Linked DNA regions of Homo sapiens: all the other regions are linked to region 1. Evidence: promoter capture Hi-C in 16 types of primary human blood cells and fetal thymus (Javierre and others, 2016). All regions are on one chromosome and are shown on one strand. Each heading gives the region's core, a stretch centred on a gene start or on the middle of the fragment in contact. The rest is flanking DNA. Distances are from core to core; before and after follow the strand shown. Region 1 holds the start of NDST4 (N-deacetylase and N-sulfotransferase 4). Region 2 has its middle 480 kb from the start of MIR1973. Region 3 has its middle 500 kb from the start of MIR1973.

Region 1 (3,549 bases), core at 554-3,053:
CTAAAAATCTTCCCAATTAGCTTATTATGAGATGTCTATCAATGTAAACATTGTTTAATATTGATCATCATAATGTATTGTCATACGATTTCTTATTTTTAAAAATGTCAACAATAGTAGGCTTAACTTCCCATTTATATATTGAGATAAATGTAAATGGCAATTATATTTTGCTTATTAATTAGTTTTTTATGAATTCCAGTTGAAAACTTAGACTGTTGTAGTCAGTGGACTTTATATTCTTTACATAAACTTGCTACTCACACACACACACACACGCACACACTCATGCACACAAATGACCAGCACAGAACCTATGTGACACTGGGATATAGCTAACTGGCATACTTTTAATAGAGTAGAATAAATTACTCTTTTGATATGAAAAAAAAAAAAAAACCTTTACATCGTTGTGGGAAAATTCATTGCTTCCTAGTTTTGGGGAAATTCAACCAATTACAATAACTTTCATCTTTATCAATTTCCTCTTGGGGCAGAAACCTCACAGGATTTTAACCATGTTGTTGGTGAGAAAGTGGAAAACTAAAATCATTCTGAGAGTTACAGAAACACATCAGTATCTTGGTATGCAATTTATGTTAAAGCATTTATGAAACTGTGCAAATGAAAAATATTCTGATAAAAGGCACCACGAAAACAAGCAAAGGTGAGTTTGAAAGAGACATGATAAAACATAAACTTAAAACTTTCTAAAGCTGTATGAGAACTCACAGTATAACTTATCATAATAAACAAAACATATAATCACTTAAAAAAACTATGACAGGAATTCTGTAGAATATAGTATTTTATTAATCAGGACAAATTCTAAGAAAAATAAGGTTTAATTTTCCTTATTTAGCTTTCTCAAAAAGAATATTGAAAAGAATGAGTAAAACCATATTCCAATAACATTTCTTGTTTTCCAACTTATTCTGTGCTTGAGGAAATTGGAGGTATACCATAAAGCTTTCTGTCCTCCTAGGAAACTATGCTTAGGGCATATGACATATATTGTTCTAAGAATTTATTTTTCTTTTCTAATAGGAGGTAGGAGGAAAGCACCTATTTCTTTATAAGCAATTTATGACTGTAACATACAATTTCACATGTCTGTGACAGCTGTTTCTCTAAAGCAGACCATTAGTACAGAGCATGCCTATAAATCTCAGGTCCAAAAAACAGGAGTTCCCATCTTCGGTAATTTGAATGCCATGTTTTCAGTAACACTTATTAGGGAAACATTTATAACCCTACAGTTAACTTTGGATGTTGAGTTTGTAAAATTGGTGCTTTTAATATGAAAAGGCTAAAGTTGTTATCAAATAAGATATTTCCTATGCAAATGTTCCGGCAACTGTTTAAATTTTATCAAGTTGTATCTCTTTTTTTTTATGTACGACTGTATTTTCTACTTACGTGCAAATATAACTTCTATAAAGCATGATGACAGGTAAGCACACACATGCGGAAAAGGGAGATTGAATTTGGTTTTAAGATATTATCTGCTTCTACATAAATCTTTCACAAATAAAACTTTATTGTGTCCGACTTGTTTACATAGCTAAGCAACGCATATTCATTTATGATACACACCTCGATTTCAGCAAATTAAGCAGTAACTTACCTAGAGAAGCATTTCAATATTTTGTCTTTTTCTAACTTGAATTTATCCCGTGTTAGAACATGAGATATCCAGTATTCAGGTTCACTTGGCTCCAGGTTAATTAGAAGGAGCTTTCAGTTCATGCAATCTGCCTCAACAATATTCCAAGAGCACTCTCTAGCTCCAGTCTTAGTGTCTGAACTCTTCCAGCAGAGTCCTTTTATTTATACACACATTGTCCTTTTCAAAACAAGCAGCCAGCTGGAATGATTCAAACCTCTGTTCAGCACACCGTTAAAATGCAGCTTCCTTCTTGGACACGAGAATTACACCAGGGAGCAGACCGAGTACAGCAAAAAGGCTATGAGAACTATTTAATCACCGGAATACCAGCTGCTCCTGCTCTGCTGTTGCTAGTGCTGCTGTGCCTCTTGTTTAGCTGTAGTCGGTCTTTCCCTCCCTCCCTCTCTCTCACATCTCCAGAACTATAAAGGCAGCTTTGCCGGATTATGATTGGCAGAAACAGCCAATTCCTTCAGCTAATCATCCTCAAGACTTTCAAGGACCTGGAGCTGTTGTGATGTCATCCAGTCAGTGGGATGTTACACATGAATACATTCCAACAGAAGCTAATTCAGCGATGGGCTGCATTCCGCTCACACCGCGGTGATTGATTAGATGCTCCTTGAAGATTTGCATAATCTTTCATTGTACAGTTCGACTATTTCCTATGAAATTTGAGGATAGAATTCCACTTTGCAGCTATGACACTGTTCCACGAGATTCTATTGGACAAAATAAGAAAAGTTCAAAGCAGGATTTTCTGCTGTAAATGTGTGCCAGTTAAACACAAAAATTACAAACTCAACAAAAGCCAACAATGAGCAATAGGAAACTCGGACAAGTATTAGTAAGCTACATAGTCCTGAAGTTAATAACAGCATTTTAGACCATGATAAATGTTAGAAGAAAAGAAAGAGTATGTGCGTGTGAATTTATTGTGTGCATTGTTTTAGTAATTAAGGTAAACTACTGGATTATTATGGAAAAGTTCTTTTCTATGTCTCTTTTCTTCTTTTTAACGTGGCAATATAAGTTGAAAATTACCTGCTCTTTGTTTTCTATTAATTCGTGTAAACACATAAAGATATTATCAAGTACTTTTATATACATTATGTAAAGTTCTTTAAACTTATTCATTAGGATATATGTAAAAGTAAAAGTAAAGTGCTTTCAGGTACTTCTCCTCATTCCAGACTACATGATTCCCTGGGCTTTTCTTGCTTTAGTACATCCCTTAGTTTCTACCATTTAATTTAGTGGAATAAGATAGGCTAATGAGAATTTGGTTCAACACCCCTAATAGGTTGCAGAACAGAACTACAAGCTTTTCTCAACTCCAAGTCCTCCTCAGGTATATGGGTGTCTTTGGTTGTACGTAGTAGTTCCACTTGAAATACTGGTGTGGTTTCAATGAAATCCTCTATAAGACTGGAAGGTAGGGGTAGGAGGGAGTCCTTCAAAACTCAGCATTTATTGATGATGTGGTCTTTCAGAAGAATAATTTTAATGCATCCAGGATTACTAGTATTATTATACTGCACAAGGTTTTGAGGGTTAGCAAGCCATAGACATATGCCATACAGAGAATAGGGAAAAAAAATCTAGCAAGTTAGAAAAAATATTTACCAGTTATTCATAAGCAATAAATAAAACCTAGTAACTCATAGGTCATGTATCAGTTAGTTTTTCAGGTGCACAGGCTAAAATATATTAAAGAAAAAATTTATATTTTAAAAATAATTAAAGCGTTCAGGTACTTCTTACTACCTTTTAAAACATTTGGAATGCAAAGATGCATTGAAGTCAAGTCAGAATTTTCAGAGTGATACACATCAAAATTCAAAATGGATAAATAAACTGCAGTTAAATATTTCAAAGAT
Region 2 (3,549 bases), core at 655-3,154, 700 kb after region 1:
GGCTAGCCATATGTAGAAAGCTGAAACTGGATCCCTTCCTTACACCTTATACAAATATTAATTCAAGATGGATTAAAGACTTAAATGTTACACCTAAAACCATAAAAACCCTAGAAGAAAACCTAGGCAATACCATTCAGGACATAGGCATGGGCAAGGACTTCATGTCTAAAACACAAAAAACAATGGCAACAAAAGCCAAAATTGACAAACGGGATCTAATTAAACTCAAGAGCTTCTGCACAGCAAAAGAAACCACCATCAGAGTGAACAGGCAACCTTCAGAATAGGAGAAAATTTTTGCAATCTACTCATCTGACAAAGGGCTAATATCCAGAATCTACAAAGAACTCAAACAAATTTACAAGAAAAAAAACAAACCCATCAGCAAGTGGGAGAAGGATATGAACAGACACTTCTCAAAAGAAGACATTCATGTAGCCAACAGACACATGAAAAAATGCTCATCATCACTGGCCATCAGAGAAATGCAAATCAAAACCACAATGAGATACCTTCTCACACCAGTTAGAATGGCAATCATTAAAAAGTCAGGGAACAACAGGTGCTGGAGAGGTTGTGGAGAAATAGGAACACTTTTACACTGTTGGTGGGGCTGTAAACTAGTTCAACCATTGTGGACATCAGTGTGGCAATTCCTCAGGGATCTAGAACTACAAATACCATTTGACCCAGCCATCCCATTACTGGGTATATACCCAAAGGATTATAAATCATGCTGCTATAAAGACACATGCACACGTATGTTTATTGCGGCACTATTCACAATAGCAAAGACTTGGAACCAACCCAAATGTCCATCAATGATAGACTGGATTAAGGAACTGTGGCACATATACACCATGGAATACTATGCAGCCATAAAAAAGGATGAGTTCATGTCCTTTGTAGGGACATGGATGAAGCTGGAAACCATCATTCTCAGCAAACTTTCTCAAGGATAGAAAACCAAACACCACATGTTCTCACTCATAGGTGGTAATTGAACAATGAGAACACATGGACACAGGAAGGGGAACATCACACACCAGGGCCTGTCATGGGTTGGGGGGATGGGGGAGGGATAGCATTAGGAGATATACCTAATGTAAATGAGAATGAGAAGTTAATGGGTGCAGCACACCAACATGGCACTTGTGTACATACGTAACAAACCTACACATTGTGCACATGTACCCTAAAGCTTAAAGTATAATAATAAAAAAAGAAATAGAACTAATACTGTAAGTCAAAAACAAATTAAACATCTGATGCTTCTTAAGAAAAAAAAAAGAAATGTAGTTCACTCATAGTCTGCTTAGTTGTGATGCTTTAACTCTACTTCTTGACAGAAACATTTACTCCAAATTCCTGATGTTCTTTAATTTTAAAAACAATATTAGATTTCCTTTTTTTATTATTTTTAATTTTGTGGGAACATAGTATATGTATATATTTATGGGCTACATGAGATATTTTGATATTGCATCGTATACATTTTGTATACATTGTATGCCTGTATAAAAATACATGTCTGACAGGAGAATTGCTTGAATCTGCGAGGCAGAGGTTGTGGTGAGCCAAGATCGCGCCATTGCACTCCAGCCTGGGCAACAAGAGCAAAACTCTGTCTCAAAAAAAAACAAACGAACAAACAAACAAAAAAACCATGTCTGTGTTTTTATACAGGCATAAAATGCATGATAATCACAGCAGGGTAAATGGGGTATCCATCATCTCATGCATTTATCCTTTCTTTGTATTACAAACAATCAAATTATACTCTTGTATTTATTTTTAAATGTACGGTATATTATTATTTACTGTAGTGACCCTGTTATTCTGTCAAATACTAGATTTTATTCATTCTAACTATATTTTTGTACCAATTAAATATCGCTACTTCCTTTTCTCTCCCACCTCCATTACCCTTCCCAGCCTCTGGTAACCATCATTCTACTCTCTGTCTCCATGAGTTTAATTATGTTAATTTTCACCTCAAATAAGTGAGAACAGGTAAAGTTTGTCTTTCTGTGTCTGACTTATTTCGCTTAAAATAATGTCCTCCAATCACAAGGTCAGGAGATCGAGACCATCCTGGCTAACACGGTGAAACTCTGTCTCTACTAAAAAAAATACAAAAAAATTAGCTGGGCATGTTGGTGGGCGCCTGTAGTCTCAGCTACTCGGGAGGCTGAGGCAGGAGAATGGCGTGAACCCGGGACGCAGAGCTTGCAGTGAGCCGAGATGGCGCCACTGCACTCCAGCCTGGGTGACAGAGCAAGACTCCGTCTCAAAAAATAAATAATAATAAGAAGAAGAATGTCCTCCAGTTCCATCAATGTTGTTATAAATGACAGGATCTCATTCTTTATTACAGCCAAATAGTACTCCCTTGTACTACTGTATAAGTATCATCTTTTATTTATCCATTTGTCTTCTGAAGGACACTTAAGTTTCTTCCAAATCTTGGCTGTTGGAAATAATGCTCCAATAAACATGGGAGTGCAGATATATCTTCAATATACTGATTTCTTGCTTTTATATTATACCTAATGATGGGACCGCTGGATAATATGAGAGCTCCTATTATTAGATTTTGAGGAAGCTTCAAACTTTTCTCCGTAGTATCTGTATGAATTTACATTTCCACCAACAGGGTACAAGGGCTCCTTATCTCTGCATCATTGCCAGGGTTTGTTATTGCCTATCTTTTGGATATAAGCCATTTTAACTGGGTTGAGATAGTATCTCCTTTTAGTTTTGATTTGCATTTCTCTGATCATCAATGATGTGGAGCACGTTTTCATATACATGCTTGCCATTTGTATGTCTTCTTTTAAGAAATATCTATTTACATCTTTTGCCCATTTTTAAACTGAATTAATAGGTTTTTTATTTTAGAGTTATTTGAGCTCCTTATATATTCTGATTATTAATCCCTTGTCAGGTGGGCAGTTTTTAAATATGTTTTTCTGTTCTGTAAATTGTCTCTTCATTTTTTGATTACTTCCTTTGCTGTTCAGAGCTTGGTAACTCGATATGATCTCATTTGTCCATTTTGGCTTTAGTTGCTTGTGTTTCTGGGGTATTACTCATGAAATCTTTGCCCACTCCAAAGTCCAAAGATTTTAGCCAGCGTTTTATTGTAGTAGTTTTATAGCTTGATGTCTCAGAATTAAGTTTTTCTTTTGATTGGATTTTTGTATATGGCAAGAGGTAGGGATCTATTTAATTCTTCTGCATATGGATAGCTAGTTTTCCCAGAAAACTAGATATCTTATTGAAAAGACTGTCCTTTACCCAATGTAGGTACTTGCACCTTTGTTTAAAATGAGTTCACTCCAGATGTGTGAATTTGTTTCTGGATTATCTATTCTGTTCTATTGATCTATGTGTTCATTTTTAGGCTAGTACCATGCTGTTTTGGTTACTATGACTCTGTAGTATAATTTGAAGTCAGGTGATGTAATTCCTCTTGTTTCGTTCTTTTTGGTTAGAATAATTTTGGTTATATATAAATTTGGTTATATATAAATTTTAGATATT
Region 3 (3,549 bases), core at 588-3,087, 690 kb after region 1:
TTGATTGTAGATATATTAAAACATCTGAGTGTAACAGAGAAAATGGGGATGTAATATTTTAGCATCGGAATATAGTACTATAATTATTTAGACAATTTCGTAGTTGCAGAAGCAAACATTGCCCTTTCAGCATGATGCTGTACCTTCCCAATTTAGAAATCAGATAATTCAAATATGATTTGTTATATCAGTAACATAAAATCCACTAAAGAAAGGCTAGAAAGAAAGTGGATTATGGAGCTACAAACAAATCTCCTCTTTTAAATACATTTATTTTCATGTAAATTAACACTTATACCTATAAATGGGATCCTAATATTCTTTTAGCTTAAATACTATACTTCATCTTATTAAAATTGTGAAAATACAAAATATTTTTATCTTCTGTTCATTAAAAGAACTAAATGCCTAGAAGTTATCTTGCTTCATTTCCAGGTGTTTCACCCATAAAATTTGAAATATCTAAGCTATATACAAATGCTAATAAAAACAACACTTTTAAATAAACTACTGTGAGGAGTATGTAATATGATTGACAAATAATATAGGTAAATAATATGCCTTACACTAAGTAAATATAGCAAAAATGCTTTTAAAATTATTTATGTAATGTTATTTTAGCAGTTTTGAATACACATGCTTTCTTCTTGACAATTTTATAGAACATAAAATTTGGATATAAATTGTATATTAAAATGTCATATTTAAAATTCATTCAAAAATTGGTTGGCAGTGTCTTTTTTTTCAGTTGAAAAACCCATTGATTTAGAATCTAACCACCTGCTACAGCAGATGAGTGCCTCTTCCTCTTTGAAAGGAGAATGCCTCAATCTGTGCTTTGGATCTCTTTGAACTATTTTCTATCCCAGTGCTTATTATCTATTCTTTCTCTCAACATGCAATCAGGTTCTCTCAATTTGATTCTTCTCATTTTTAAAAGCATCTTCTCAGTTCTCCTTATTTCAAAAATCAATAACAGTAGCAGCAGCAACAAAACTTCTGAATCCTATTTCTTCCTTTTGTCAACCTATACTAAGCTTTCCTTCATGACTGACACTCTCAAAACGTGTGCCTATTCTTATTGTTTTTATTTTGTCACCAACATGTCTGGCAATTCATTGGAACTGGCTTCTGTCTCTATTAATAACCTAAGCAGCTCCCACTACTAAACAAAGCCATAGCCTCTGTGTTACTAAGTCCAAATCTCATTCTACCCAGAGTGTTAATCCCCCCACCCATTCATTTATTTCTATGTACTTTGTTTTTTCTTTTACAATATTCTCATGCATTTTTTCTACCTCACTGACCACCCATTCAGTCTCCTGTGCAAATCCGGTTTCAATAATAAAACCACGGTAAATTGAGTTTCTCCAGGTCAGACCTAGAAAACCTTCTCTTTTCAATCTATACCTTCTTCCTTGATCTTATCCAAATCTTAGGTTTTGAGATTTACTTTATTGAAAGAAAACTTACAAATGTATATCATCATTTTAGTTATCTCCTCAGAGCTCATGATGGAATATGCTGTTTGGTATCTCTGTTTATCTTAAAAACACTTCACAAACAACATTCTAAAGGATGAAAAAGACTTACACTCAAAAGACATGTGTAACTATTCTGTTATACAGGACAGTAATTTACTTTTGTCCTTCTCCACTCCATCAAACTTAAGCTCAACATCAAACTCTATCAAACTGAACCATATTATGTCTATTAAATCTTCACATTTATCTTCACAATGCAACCCCCTTCTCTCCTGTCTCCCTGTTATGTAGATACACACACACACAAACTAGTCCAAGATATTTTCATGTGTCTTCTAGAATATTAGTTATTCTGTTGAACCTCCTTTTTTTGCTTCCAGTCAATTCTCCATTTCTGCATTCAGAATTCCAAAGTGCAAATGTTATCTGAAAAATAAGCCCTTCATTAAAACATTTAAATGGCTCTTCAATGCCCTCAGCCATAAAAAAAAGTCTTTAATATTTGTCCCATGAAGTGCTGTGTGATAGGCCCTCTAATTGTCTTCCCAGCAGATTCTCACAATGTGATACTGTGAGCAACGCTATGTTATATAAACTCACTTATTAAAGTCTAATAGTACATTCAGAAACATGAGCGGGTCATAAATACACACCTAGATAAATGTTCATGAAGTGATTACATGTAAGCAACCAGAATATTCTTGAGAAAAAGACCTTAAGTGCAACCCAGAAAACCTCTCATCCTTTCTCCTACTCATCTCACTCTCTCCTGAAAAGTAACTATCCTTGTATATGCATGATAGATTAATTTTCTTTAAGTTTGAAATATATGCAAATGGAACCATATATTATGTCTTATTTTATTTCTGGCAAATTTTATTCAAGATTAGATTTATGTCTTCTGTATAAAATAAGTTATTTATTTTGTCAGTAGATGGTTAATGAGCATTTGGGTTACTTTTGTATTTTTAATTACTACAGTTAATATTATAGCTAGCCTTCTTGCACATGTCTTTTGATACATGTATCCATGGGTTTGTGTTATCTATGAAAGCAGGTATAAAACTCTGGGGACATAGTGTATTTATACATTCCCTTTCATATATGCTGAAAAGCTGTTTTCTAAAGTGGTTGTACTAATTTAGAAGTAGATAAAAGCTTCTGTTATTTCACAACTTTTCCTGCTTTTAGTACTTTAGTATTTTTAATTGTAGCCTGATGAGTATGTAGAAATACGTTAGAATAGTTCTACTTTGCATTCTCCTTATTACCATTGATGTAGTACAGATATTCATATGCTTATTGACCATTTGCATATTTTATTATGTAAATGTTCTGTATTGAGGTTAAGGAAGTTTCTTTTTGTCTCTGGTTTTCTAAGAGTTTTAGTCATGATGGATATGAAATTTGGTCATCATATGATGTTTGGACATCATATGTTTGTTCTTTATATTTTGTTAATGTGTGAATTATATTTATTGACTTTGAAAACAGAAATCCTAGGTATGTCTTTGGATTCTGTTTGCTAATATTTTGCCTAAGATTTTTTTATCCATGTTTGCAAATGCAATTGACCTGAAATTTTCATTTTTGAAATATTTTAGCAGGTTTTTAAATCAAGGTTATTCTGGAGTCAACATGACTCATATGCTTTTTTCTCTTTTTTCTCTCTTCACATAATGAACTATATATTTTCTGTTGCTTTATGTCTCTAGTCACAAATTCTCTCTTTCATTGTATAATGTCACTGTTCAATTGAATTTTTTTTTTTTTTGAGATGGAGTCTCGCTCTGTCGCCCAGGCTGGAGTGTAGTGGCGCAATCTCAGTTCACTGCAAGCTCTGCCTCCCAGGTTCACACCATTCTCCTGCCTCAGCATCCCAAGTAGCTAGGACTACAGGTGCCCACCACCACGCCTGGCTAATTTTTTGTTTTTAGCAGAGAGGGGGTTTCACCGTGTTAGCCAGGATAGTCTCGATCTCCTGACCTCGTGATCCACCTGCCTTGGCCTCCCAAAGTGCTGGTATTACAGGCATAAGACACCACACCTGGACTCAATTGAAATT

What was found. Contacts are between HindIII fragments. The CHiCAGO score rates a contact against its expected background, and 5 or more counts as called.
Region 2: a fragment that was not itself captured here is called in contact with the fragment with the promoter of NDST4 in region 1 in 1 of 17 cell types (M2 macrophages); the score reaches 6.5 in M2 macrophages.
Region 3: a fragment that was not itself captured here is called in contact with the fragment with the promoter of NDST4 in region 1 in 1 of 17 cell types (M1 macrophages); the score reaches 5.1 in M1 macrophages.

What each region holds. Positions count from the first base shown.
Region 1 is chr4:115,111,817-115,115,365 of GRCh38, forward strand. NDST4 (N-deacetylase and N-sulfotransferase 4) reads right to left here and starts at 1,804. Exons shown (of 14, transcript NM_022569.3): 1 at 1,628-1,804. The HindIII fragment of the contact is 2,024 bases long and covers 968-2,991 here.
Region 2 is chr4:115,816,597-115,820,145 of GRCh38, forward strand. No RefSeq gene overlaps it. Among named protein-coding and RNA genes, the nearest start is that of MIR1973, 480 kb to the right of the region's middle. The HindIII fragment of the contact is 1,404 bases long and covers 1,203-2,606 here.
Region 3 is chr4:115,798,513-115,802,061 of GRCh38, forward strand. No RefSeq gene overlaps it. Among named protein-coding and RNA genes, the nearest start is that of MIR1973, 500 kb to the right of the region's middle. The HindIII fragment of the contact is 1,605 bases long and covers 1,036-2,640 here.